Linked DNA regions of Homo sapiens: region 1 is linked to region 2. The links are contacts of gene promoters, found by promoter capture Hi-C in blood cells and fetal thymus (Javierre and others, 2016). All regions are on one chromosome and are shown on one strand. The core of a region is centred on a gene start or on the middle of the fragment in contact, and the rest is flanking DNA. Distances in the headings are between cores, read along the strand shown.

Region 1 (5,537 bases), core at 280-2,779, 260 kb after region 2:
ATTACACAGATTAAATTATTTTGGTTTCTTTATTTTCTAATGTTCAAACCACCCTTTAAGCTCCCCCGATTGGGGCACAGTGGCTCTCATGCCTGTAATCTCAGCACTCTGGGAGGCCAAGGCAGGTGAATTGCTTGCACTAAGGAGTTGGAGGGACAACATGGCGAAACCCTGTCTCTATTAAAAATATACAAAAATTAGCCAGATGGGACAAGGAGTGGCCTGATGCACGTGATGGTGTGTGCCTGGGGTCCCAGCTACTCAGGAGATTGAGGTGGAAGGATCGCTACAGCCTCAGCAGTCAAGGCTGCAGTGAGCCAGGATCATGATGCCACTGCACCCCAACCTGGGTGACAGAGTGAGACCCAGTCTCTAAATAAATAAATATAAAGAAGCTAATCGTAAAATACCTGCTTAAAAAATAGGAGACAAGGTATGTGAAAAATAATTTTTTTTTTTAAATAAAGAAATAAGCTCCTCCTTACCTTTTCAGTGGACCCTGATACAATGATTGTTCCCAGTTGATTCATGGCCAGGCTATAAATGGAATCTTTGTTTCCACTTAAAGAAGAAGCTATTGAGGATAAACGGAGCTAAATGTTAACAAGATCATCAGCTGTTTAGTAACTAGTCAGCAAAAACTGCAAGTTTATTCAATTTAGAAAATCTTATCTTTATAAGTCCTCTACGGAAAAGAAATCTACCTATAATGGAGATAAATCTAAACAGTATTATTATCAAAATTTACATATTTTCTGGATTTGAATATATACAAATGCTCAATATCTGATAAACTGCAGTGCCATTGAAAAGCTATCCGCTTAAATGATATGTTTAAAGCTATTCATGTGCCATAAATATGAAAAAATGTTCAATTTCAGTATTTTTCAAACACAAATCAAACCAAAAACACTGTTTCATACACCAAGACAAAAAACAAGGTAATACTTGATTGTAAAAAGAAAACAGTACAATGGAACTCTCATATATTACTTATGTGAAGATAAATAGGTACAACCTTTCAGGAAGGAATTCAGACTATAGCAAAAATCATGTTCATACTCTCAGTATCACTGAAGTAAAAAAGATGTATATGAAACTGTCTATATAGTATGAACCCAATTTTACAAACATATTAAAAAGTTGAGTAAATGAGTTACTACATGTACTGTTTAGAAAAATGTCTACTTGTAGCAAGTACTCAATACAGGTTAGCCATTATTAGTATTATTTTTATTATTATGTATTAAAAAAAAGTGTGATATCCTCTCTAAACAACTCTAAGCAAGATGTAGCAGAATCTGTATCCACTAAGCCTGGGCCCTGACCTTGTGACAACCTGCTTTTTTTTTTTTGCTTTGTTCCCTCCCATTAGTGTCTCTTTGAGGCAGGCCTTACATCCAGACTTAAAACCTAATGATGTACCATGACAGCCCCAACAGGGACCAGCTAATGAATCAGAGATAATGTACAGGTGAAAAATCAAGAACAAGGGAAAAAGAATGTTGAGACCTTCACATATTTCCTGGAAAACAAGGCAAAACAACAATCAAGAGATTATAAACACAAGTCTCCCAACTTACCCTTCTTGGCACATACTAGGCTATATTAGTAAAACTGTATTGTCTATGTCAATGTGAACACTCCACAGAGTCGTTATAAAATGGACCTATAATGTAGGGATCCAGAGAATGCAGGCCCATGTCTTCAATGTAGACTTTCCAGGTCAGGCCTAGCCAAAAATGTGCTCCTAACAGTCCCTTCTGAAACCTGGCCTAGAGGACTCTACTAGGTTGGGCCAAGCATGAAGCTCAATTTCAAATCTAGACTTGTATGAGCCTGACTTGGTAGTCTGAGATCTCTTAGCTGATGAATCATCCATGCTGTGAACATCTCTGGATTGCCTCTAGAAGCACTCTACCGTTCTGGCTCTTCTGGAATTGGCTTGATTCCTCAGGGCTGCTCTAAAAGGCAGAAAATTTGATAAACTGGCACTGGAAACCTTTTCTTTCTTTCTCCTGGGTATTTTTCATCTTGGCTATTAACTCAAAAGCTCTTAACACTTTAAAAAGTCAGAAAACCGCCTACTTTGTCAGAAAATCGCCACCTCCTTCAATAATACCTGCTGAGTGTATGGATTTGGACCAGGGAATGCTGTGGGAGATACGAAGTAGTAAGACAGTCTCCTCTACCCTGCAGGGACTTACATTTTAGCTAGGGAGCTAAGACATGCACACGTACAAAAAATAACCAGGTTATACCTGGAGAAGTTACCATTTTTAGACTGCAGTGAGGAACTAGCTCTTTGTTGTTCAATCATACTCTTGGGGGCCAGAACGCTGTAGGTAGAAGCACTCTCAAAATATGAAACACTCTCTCGATGCAAACCTATCAAAAATGTTTTATAAACCATTCTTTATTTATGTTAACTTGGATCACTTTCAAAGAAGTTTCTTTTAAACACCTTACTTGTGACAGTGTTATTTGAGGCAGTCAATGCTGTTAGAGTATTCACATCCCAAAGGAATATTTGTCTGTCCAACCCAGCTGATGCTACTAGTTCTTTATCCTTGGCATATGCTAAGGCCTTTACGTAATCCTGTAATAGAACAGACATACTATGATCTATTCTGTAGATCAGTAATAAAATGAGCCACACAAAGTACTGAGATCCCAATATTACACTAAAGACACTGAGAACTGTATTGTTTTACCTTATGTGTCCTTAATGTTGACATGCAAAATCCCTTGTGTGCATTCCATACTTTTACTGTCGTGTCAGAAGAAGCAGATATTACTAGAAGAAGCAAAGAATTAACAAACTCCTTAGTAGTATGACTTAAAACTTTGAAAACTTATCTTACAACAATGTAACATTATTTCAAACTAACATATTCTCTCTCTTACACACACAAACATACCTAAAAGCTCTTTCTAGAACCTATTGTATATTGCCTCAATTTTTTAAAATCTCAAGACACATGTTCAAAGAAAAAAATATATTTTTAAAACAAGCAGTGCAAACATTTTTAATGTTCCAGTTGAAGGCTCAACTAATGTGATTGAGAAAAATTCCTGTAACTCGGACTGCAAAACCAAGGAATGGATCTCACCAAAATTAGAACAAAAAGAGGTATTAATAAGGCTAAAAGAAGAATACATATAGTACGAGTCTATATACAGTTCAAATGAAGGCAAAACTACCCTTTGGTGTTCAGAAGACAGAAGAGCAGTTACCTTGGGGCAAGAGGGAATAACTGAAAGGGTGGCAAAGGGTGGCACAAGAGGGCTTCTAGTAATATTGTTTCTTGATTTGGGTATTCACTTTCTAAAATTGTGTTGAACTGCAATCTCGAAGTGTGTGTACTTTTCTGTATGTATGTTTCAATAAAAAAGCTTATATAAAAAACAAAAAATATATCAGAAGCCCAATAATAATCCAAAGAAATACTTACATGTTTTCCCATTACAACAGAGTACAATGTCGTTTACCCAATCAGTATGGTGTTCCATAGATGCTATATATGGATCTTGCTGAAATTAAAAGAAAAATCCTAAGAGTTTATATGAGAGAATGAAATATATTACAAATGATAGATATGGTTAAATTCTTCAATTAATGTGACATACTGCTCTAGGCATTAAAACTAACACCTGAATTCTGAGTAGAATCTCACCAAATAGGTGATGCTTCCAGATAACAGATGTAAACAGTTTTGTTTCAGGACAGTTTTACTCTTACTGAAAGCTTAGGTTTCCAGGACAAATACTTCATTTTTTTTTTTTTTGCCTTGTTAAAGTGAAGGCAACAAGCTCTGGACTAGGCACTGTGTGTGACATAAAACCCTTTAAAAAGGGTTCACTAGAAAGGACATGACTTGTAGGAATCTGTAGGCTGTGGGGATTTGAATGAGTGGTGGTGAAGGCTCAACAGCAGACAGCAGGGGCAGCAATGAGTCTGATGAGTGCACTAAGGAGCCTGGTCTGAATGCAGAGGGAGATAAACACTTCTGCTTTCAGCTTCCTACTGTTGGGTTCACCCTCTGAATTAAATGTTTTCCTCATGGTACCTACAGGCCTTCAGAGATGAAAGGAAACCCAACGGCTGAGAAAGGACAACCTGTGTCACCATTTCAATTAGGTGATTCGAGATTCTACTTCTCTTACCTGGCTTAATAACCAGGAGAGGCCTTTTAAAGAACAGTATTTAGTTACATCCTACACCTAAAACAGGCAAGTTTGAGACACTTTATGGGCAAACAGAACAGCTCTGTACAAGTCTGTTTGACAAATAATGCTATTCAATCTTGTCATAAAAGGAAGACCAGAAAAAAGATGTTTGGGGCAAGACAGGCAGATTTCCAGATTCTTCAGGTTAGTTCTTTTGGGTGTTTTTCTTAATTTGTTTGAAATACTGTGAATGCTCAGAAAGGAGACATTCCAATTCAATTATAAGTACCAAAAAGCATTTCAAAGCCAAACATAGTTTTCTTACTTTTCATGCTTTTGACATTTGGCCACCACTGCATGGTCCATTGGCTAAAGAATTCAAAGCCTGCCAGACTGAAGTTATAGGCGCATAAAGTAGTGGTTCTTTTTCTGAACTGAATATCAGACTTGTAAAACTTGCTAAAAAGACACAAACTTTTAAAAATACAAGGTCTAGCACTAGGGTTTTCAAGTTGGGCTGGGTACTAATTCTCTGTCACTTCCTAGCCACATAACCATGGGTTTCTCTGAGCCCATTTTCTCATCTATGAAAATGGATCTGGCCAGGCGCGGTGGCTCACGCCTGTAATACCAGCACTTTGGGAGGCCAAGGCAGTTGGATTATCTGAGTCTAGAAGTTTGAGACCAGCCTGACCCACATGGTGAAACCCCGTCTCTACTAAAATTATAAAAATTAGCTGGATGTGGTGGCGTGTGCCTGTAGTCCCAGCTGCTGAGGAGGCTGAGGCAGGAAAATTGATTGAAGCCAGGAGTCAAGAGGTTGCAGTGAGCCAAGATCGCGCCACTGCACTCCAGCCTGGGTGACAGAGCGAGACTCCATCTCAAAAAAAAAAAAAGAAAAAAAAGAAAATGGATCCTAATAGGTACCTTGAGGGACACTGAAAATTAAAATCACATTGGATATGAAAATGCAAAGAGCGTATGGCACATAATTAGAAGATCAATAAATGCTCTTTTTTTCTTCCCTGATTCTTCTTTTCTCTGTCATTCACAATATAGGTGTTCCAACAAAATACTAAAAGGGCTCGTTACCATTTGCCTGGGGATTTATCTTTACACATATTTAAACCCTGTTCCCTGCTTAAGAAAGGGAAATCTTTGAAGGGGAGCATGTTGTCTTCATAGTTTTAACACCAATTTTATATTATCTTTATTTATTTATTTGAGACAAGGTCTCCCTCTGTTGCCCAAGCTGGAATGCAGTGGTGTGATCACGGCTCACTCAGCCTCAACCTCCCATACTCAATCAAGTGATCCTCCCACCTCAGCTCCCCGAGTAGCTGGGACTACAGGTGTGTGCCACCATG
Region 2 (6,388 bases), core at 494-2,993:
GCAGGGCCCTAATCTGATAGAACTAGTGTCCTTAACAGAAGAGAAAGAGACACAAGAAATTTTGCTCCCCTTGTGCATGGAGTAAAGACCATGTGAGGACACAGCAAGAAGGCTGAAATCAGCAAGCCAGGTAGAGAAGCCTCACCAGAAATCAACTGCATTGGCAGCTTGGTCTTGGACTTCCAGCCTTTAGAAGTATGTTAAACAACACTTTCTGTTGTTTAAGCCACTCAGTCTATTGTATTTTGTTATGTAAACCAAAGGGAGTCAGCTGAGATGAGAAAAGCCAAAACTTACAAAGAAAATGTAAATACCCATAGTTCCATCACCTAGAATTAGCAGCTGCTAACATATTCTCACAATGCTTTGGGTTATTTTTTTTTCCTTCCTTCCTTCTTTTTTTCTCCCTTCTTTTCTCCCTCCCTCATTCCCTCTCTTCCTTCCATCCCTCTTTCTTTTTTTATTTCTGATGCAATAGAGATGAAGCTAATGTTCCCTTTAACTACACAACTTATCCCCATAACAGAAACAACAACTAAAACCAATTTGGTATGTATCATTCCAAACAATTTCCCCCTGTACTTTTACATATTTATATATATCCATAAACAATATATATTTTTGTGTGTTTTAACTTACATAAATGATATATTGTTTTAACTTACATAAATGATATATTGTTTTTCCCTTTGTATTTTGCTTATTGTTTTAGAGATATATCTGCATGATATTCATCAGTTTATTCTTTTAATTGCTTTCCTAAGCACCAGAAAAAAAATAACTTTATAAATGCAATAGAAAAATGATCCCAATTATACTAGCAATGAAAATTACTAGCATTACTAGGAATAAAACTAATAAAAATGCAATTCAGTTACATAAAAATTATAAAACTTGACAATTCTTCTCAAATTGATATATACATTCAATGCAATTTCAATCCAGACATATTTTTCCAAGGCATTTGTTTGCTTTACATTCAGACACCCCTCTCCACTCTGCTACTTTTCTATGATTTGAAAGCACAAGCAAGCAAGCAAGCAATTTATTTATTTTTTTAGAGACAGGGTCTCACTATGTTGCCCAAGCTGGAGTACAGTAGTTATACGCAGGTGTGATCTCACACAAAGCCCTGACTTCTGGGCGCAAGCAATCCTTCTGCCCCAGGCTCTTGAGTAGCTGGGACTACAGGCACCCACCAGCAACTTCTTTAGTCATATGAAAGTTTGCTCGCTGGCTTCTTTCCTTAAGAACAGCACCCAGGTGTCCTTCAGTTACCTGATAGAAGCCCTGTACCCAGCACAAGGACAGATCTTCCCAGATGCCTGGTATTATAAAGGATCTTCTCTTATCTACCTTCCCACTCTTGTAGGAGTTTTCACTCTCTCCTAAAGGCCTGCAGAGAATATGGCACGGTTTGCTCTCCTCAGCCAGAGCATGGGCAGCCACTAAGACACATGCATGTTTGTGGGCTCTGAGGAAATGCAAAGATTTAAAAAAAAATTTTACTTCTTGTGCTAGACCTCTGAAATTTTGGTCTTCCCTTTGCCTATCCTCTAAAGATATAAAAATGCCCCTGCCTACTCATGCCCTTCTTCCCCAAGGATGCTTGTAGCACATACCTTAGTGACAGCCTTTGTTCTGGAGGTTTCAGTGTTGCCAATTCCTTCTTCACAAAGTCTGTATCCTCATGTGAGTGCAGCTCAATGAGCAGCAGCCTCTCTGGAGGTATCCTCCCACTACAAACAGCAGATGGAGAGAAGGCAGTCTCTTGAGGGCTCCACCCTCACACCTAGTCACCTAAAGGGAGGCAATGAGGGTTAAATGAGATCGTAAGGCTGAGGCCCTAATTCAATAGGACTGGTGTCTCCTAGGTAGAGGAATACACACCAGAGCTCACTCTCTTGCCTCCAGGTGCTCAGAGGAAAGGCCATGTGAGGACACAGGGAGAAGGCAGCCATCTGCAAGTAAGGTAAATAGGCATCACCAGAAACCAGACTTGTGGGCACCTTGGTCTTCTAGCCTCCAGAACTGTGGGAAAACAAATTTCTGTTGTTTAAGCTACTCAGCCTGTAGTATTTTGTTATGGAAGTCCTAGCAGACTAATACAGGGGTTAATGGGAATTTTCTGTGTTGTCTACCTAGATTTTCTGTAAACTTAAAACCTCTAAAAAATAGTCTATTAAAATTTTTAATTGAAATCAGTATTAAAATGAAATCATAATTCCATTATTATTTTGAAGTTATACAATTTATACCAGGACTGGCTTTCCTCCATGGTATGTAGCATACACAAATGTGTGTGTATGTTGTATGCATGTACATATATTAACTCTTTCAACAGGAATGCCATTTGAAAATCACTTTAAGTCAGTTTCCCCTATCCCAGGAGAGTGAACATGAGTCCCAGAATTGTTGGGAGGAAATGACAGAAGTTCCAGAATCTCCTCATCTCCAACCCACTCATTCCTGGAGAAATGCAGTAGAAATATCTGCTGGATGCCAGGTACGGTGGCTCACATCTGTAATTCCAGCATTTTGGGAGGCTGAGGCAGGAGGATTGCTTGAGCCTAGGAGTTCAAGACCAGACTGGTCAACATAGCAAGACCCCATCTCATACGGTTTGGCTCTGTGTCCCTACCCAAATCTCATCTTGAATTATAATCCTCATAATCCCCATGTGTCAAGGGCGGGACCAGGTGGAGTTAATTGGATCATGGGGGCAGTTTCCCCCATGCTGTTCTCATGATAGTGAGTGAGTCTCAAGAGATCTGATCTGATGGTTTTATAAACACCTGGCATTTTCCCTGCTTGCACTCACTCCATCCTGCCGACCTGTGAAAAATGTGCCTGCTTCTCCTTTGCCTTCCACCATGATTATAAGTTTCTTGAGGCCTCCCCAGCAATGCAGAACTGTGAGTCAATTTAACCTCTTTCCTTTATAAATTATCCAATCTTGGTCTTTCTTTATAGCAGTGTGACAACGGACTAATGCATCATCTGTACAAATTTTTTAAATAAAATTAGCCAGGCATGGTGGCATGCACTTGTAGTCCCAGCTACTTGGGAAGCTAAAGTGGGAGGATCACTTGAGTCCAGCAGTTTGAGGTGAGCTATGATTGAGCCACTGACCTGTCTCTAAAGAAAAAATAAAAGGAAATATCTGCTGGTACCTGAATTCATACCTCGGCAAATTCCCCTCACCATCATTCATGTTTTGACGCAGTTTGGGGAAAACCCAGTTCCTTTATGAGAGTTTTGTATGTGATAAGCAAAGATCAATGGTGAGCCGATGGAGAACTCAGGGCCCTCAGGTATTACTAGTCCATGTCATGATGGTGGGAACTATGGGACCGCCTCATCAGTGAGGGCAGGTGTGGGGGAAGCCACCTTCCCCTCCAAAGCCCAGTTAAGCAAGGCCTGAGGGACTAAGGTGGAATTCCCCCCAAGCCCAGTTTCTAGTGCAAGCTGATCTAAACCCCAAACAGTCTCTATCTTCAGTTCCTGAGGATTCTTTTATCAGCTGCTCCTCCATACTTGGCACAGTGCTTAGTGCACAGCAACTTCTTAATAAATAGTTGAACAGAGAGAATGAGGCAAGGTGGAGATGTGGAGTCTGGTGAAGAGTTGGAGGAAAGGACTGAACAGCCAGAATGGAAGGATGCTCCTCTTTTTGTGTTTCCTGAGCCAGATCTGAGGGCTGGTGTGGGCCCCTGCAGGACTGGACACTTGCCTGCTGTCACCTGTGTATTTGTTTCCTGTGGCTGCTGTAACAAATTACCACCAACTTAGTGGCTTAGAGCAGCAGACGTGTATTCTCCCCCAGTTCTGGAGGCCAGATGGCTATAATCCAGCAGGGCTGCCTCCTTCTGGGTGCTTGAAGGGCGAATTGTTCCTTGCCACTTCTGGCTCTTGGTGGCTGCCCCAGCAAACCTGGGGCTTGTGGCCACATCACTTTAATCTCCACCATCTTCACATCTCCTTCTCCACTGTGTGTCTGCATCAGATCTCACCCACCTCTGATTTATGAGAACACTCATGATTGGATTTAGGATCCGTCCAGGTAATCCATGATAATCTCCCCATCTCAAAATCCTTGACTTAATCACATCTGCAGAAGCTCTTCTCCCAAGTAAAGTAACATTTACAAGTTCTAGGAATTAAGACTTCATCTCTTTGGTTGACCATTATTCAACCCACAACATCCTGACTCGGAAGACAGACAAACTGTGACATAGTTAACTGACAAGCCTTGGTTCCTCACCTTTGGGCCTACATCAGGGATTCAGGCATTCTATGGGAAGGCAGCAGAAACCAAACTACAAAACCAAAGTAGTGTGACCCCTCCAGAGCCAATGGCCTCTCCAAGTCTACCTTCTGCTGCACATTCAATGGGTTCTGAAAATGCTGGATCAGATCCATTGGGGACATCCCATCTAAATTCAATTCTACTGGGTCCCTCCAAAGGTTCAAAAGACTGTATTTCACTTCAGAGGGAAAAAGAGACTAGCAGCATATTTGACCTCCTTTCCTCCAAAATAAAGAGAAAGAAAAAACTGTATTTAAATAAACCCTAAGTGTAAATGTAGAAATTACTACTATCACAGATATTTGTCATAGAGTATTAGGGCAGAAAATGGCCTCAGGTCATACAGCTGATGTCTCTCTCCCTCTCTTTCTTTCAAAGTAGTAATATTTAAGTCCAGAGAGGCAAAGTGGCTCACCCAAAATCACACAGTAATTTGGTGGTAGAGCCAGAGCCAGAACTCAGGTCTTCCGAGGCACAGCTGAGGGTGCTTTTCTTACTGCACCACATTCAAAATTCTCGTGCAATAACATTATGAAGAGTTGTGGATAAGACTAGAGGAAGTCTTTCTGTATTTTCTATAGTTTTCAACTATATGTCAGTCCCTCAGTGATTTGTAGGGTAAAAATGCATTTGCTTAACGAAAAGTGTTAGACAAAGCCAGAGTTTAAGAAAAGCTCGTGTGTTATTAATAGTAAAGCCAGTTTTGCTGTCTATATAATTTAATTTCCCATATGGATTACAAAAAAGAGTAACAAGAAACAGATTTTCTTTTTTACTACTATTTATTTCCTTCATAAGAGTAATCATGACAATTGTCAGAATACAAAAAAAGGTATCATCATAATTTTGATTTGAAGGGTTGAATATGGAGAAATGTGGTTAATAACGTATTTTTAGTTGCATTTTCAGGAAATTCATATTACCTTGTGTGCCAGAATAATTGATTAGATCTCTTAGTGGTTTGTTTTGTTTTGTTTGAGACGGAGTTTTGCTCTTGTTGCCCAGGCTGGAGTACAATGGTGCAATCTTAGCTCACTGCAACCTCTGCCTCCTGGGTTCAAGTGATTCTCCTGTCTCAGCCTCCCTAGTAGCTGGGATTATAGGCGCCCGCCACTACACCTGGCTAATTTTTGGTATTTTTAGTAGAAACGGGGTTTTACCATGTTGGCCAGGCTGGTCTCTAACTCATGACCTCAGGTGATCCACCCGCCTCAGCCTCCCAAAGTGCTGGGATTACAGGCATGAACCACTGTGCCCGGCCTTTCTTTTTTTTTTTTTTTTTGAGACAGAGTCTTCCTCTGTGGCCCAGGCTGGACTGTAGCAGCATGATCTCAACTCACTGCAGCCTCCACCTCCCAGGTTCAAGAGACTCTCCTGCCTCAGCCTCCAGATTGGCTGGGACTACAGGTGCATGCCACCATGCCCGGCTAAATCTCTTAGCCTTTTGGTGGTGCTTTATTCCCAGAATTTATCTTCTACAAACATGCTCACCACCTTTTTCCAAGGCTACAAGCACTGAAGTGCCTAGCATATTCTCAGAACTGCTTTTGCCATTAGAAGGGATAAAAAAATGAAATTTATGATTTCCTCACTTAAGGAGCTTAGCAATCATGGCACTTTCATCACAGGAGTCCCAGGAGGTGATGGTTCTCTGAAGAATGATGAATAATGAAAGGAAAAAGTATCACTGTGAAAACCATGTAGAAACCCAGAGAAATCTTTATGATTAAGGTGGCATGTATACTATGACTGTCTCTTTGCGAAGCATGGATGAGTGTGGGTACATCCAGAATGAAATAGGCAGAAATTAAAACAATCTTATATTAGGTTATTTCTTTTTATTCTTAAAATTCTCTTTAATAAAGGCACGCTGTCATTTCAATTACAAGTTTTTAGGAAATAGAAAATTGCTATCAAGCACTAATTCAAAGCAAACACATTTTCATGTTGTGAATGATTTATTGATTAAATTGGAGATCAATTTAATAAGCCACACTTGTAATTCTCTCCCATTGACTTGCAAAAAGCACCTGCATTGCCAAAAGTGGTACACAAAGGAAGCCTGAGTTTATCATTATG

The links. Contacts are between HindIII fragments. The CHiCAGO score rates a contact against its expected background, and 5 or more counts as called.
Region 1: a fragment that was not itself captured here is called in contact with the fragment with the promoter of CCR8 in region 2 in 1 of 17 cell types (neutrophils); the score reaches 5.2 in neutrophils.

Annotation. Positions count from the first base shown.
Region 1 is chr3:39,063,808-39,069,344 of GRCh38, reverse strand. WDR48 (WD repeat domain 48) reads right to left here. Exons shown (of 19, transcript NM_020839.4): 3 at 3,456-3,534; 4 at 2,715-2,797; 5 at 2,470-2,599; 6 at 486-574. Among named protein-coding and RNA genes, the nearest start is that of WDR48, 15 kb to the right of the region's middle. The HindIII fragment of the contact is 3,739 bases long and covers 1-3,398 here.
Region 2 is chr3:39,325,064-39,331,451 of GRCh38, reverse strand. It overlaps CCR8 (C-C motif chemokine receptor 8), which reads right to left and starts at 1,743. Exons shown (of 2, transcript NM_005201.4): 1 at 1,623-1,743. RefSeq lists enhancers at 3,072-3,161, 3,512-3,601. The HindIII fragment of the contact is 11,619 bases long and covers 1-6,388 here.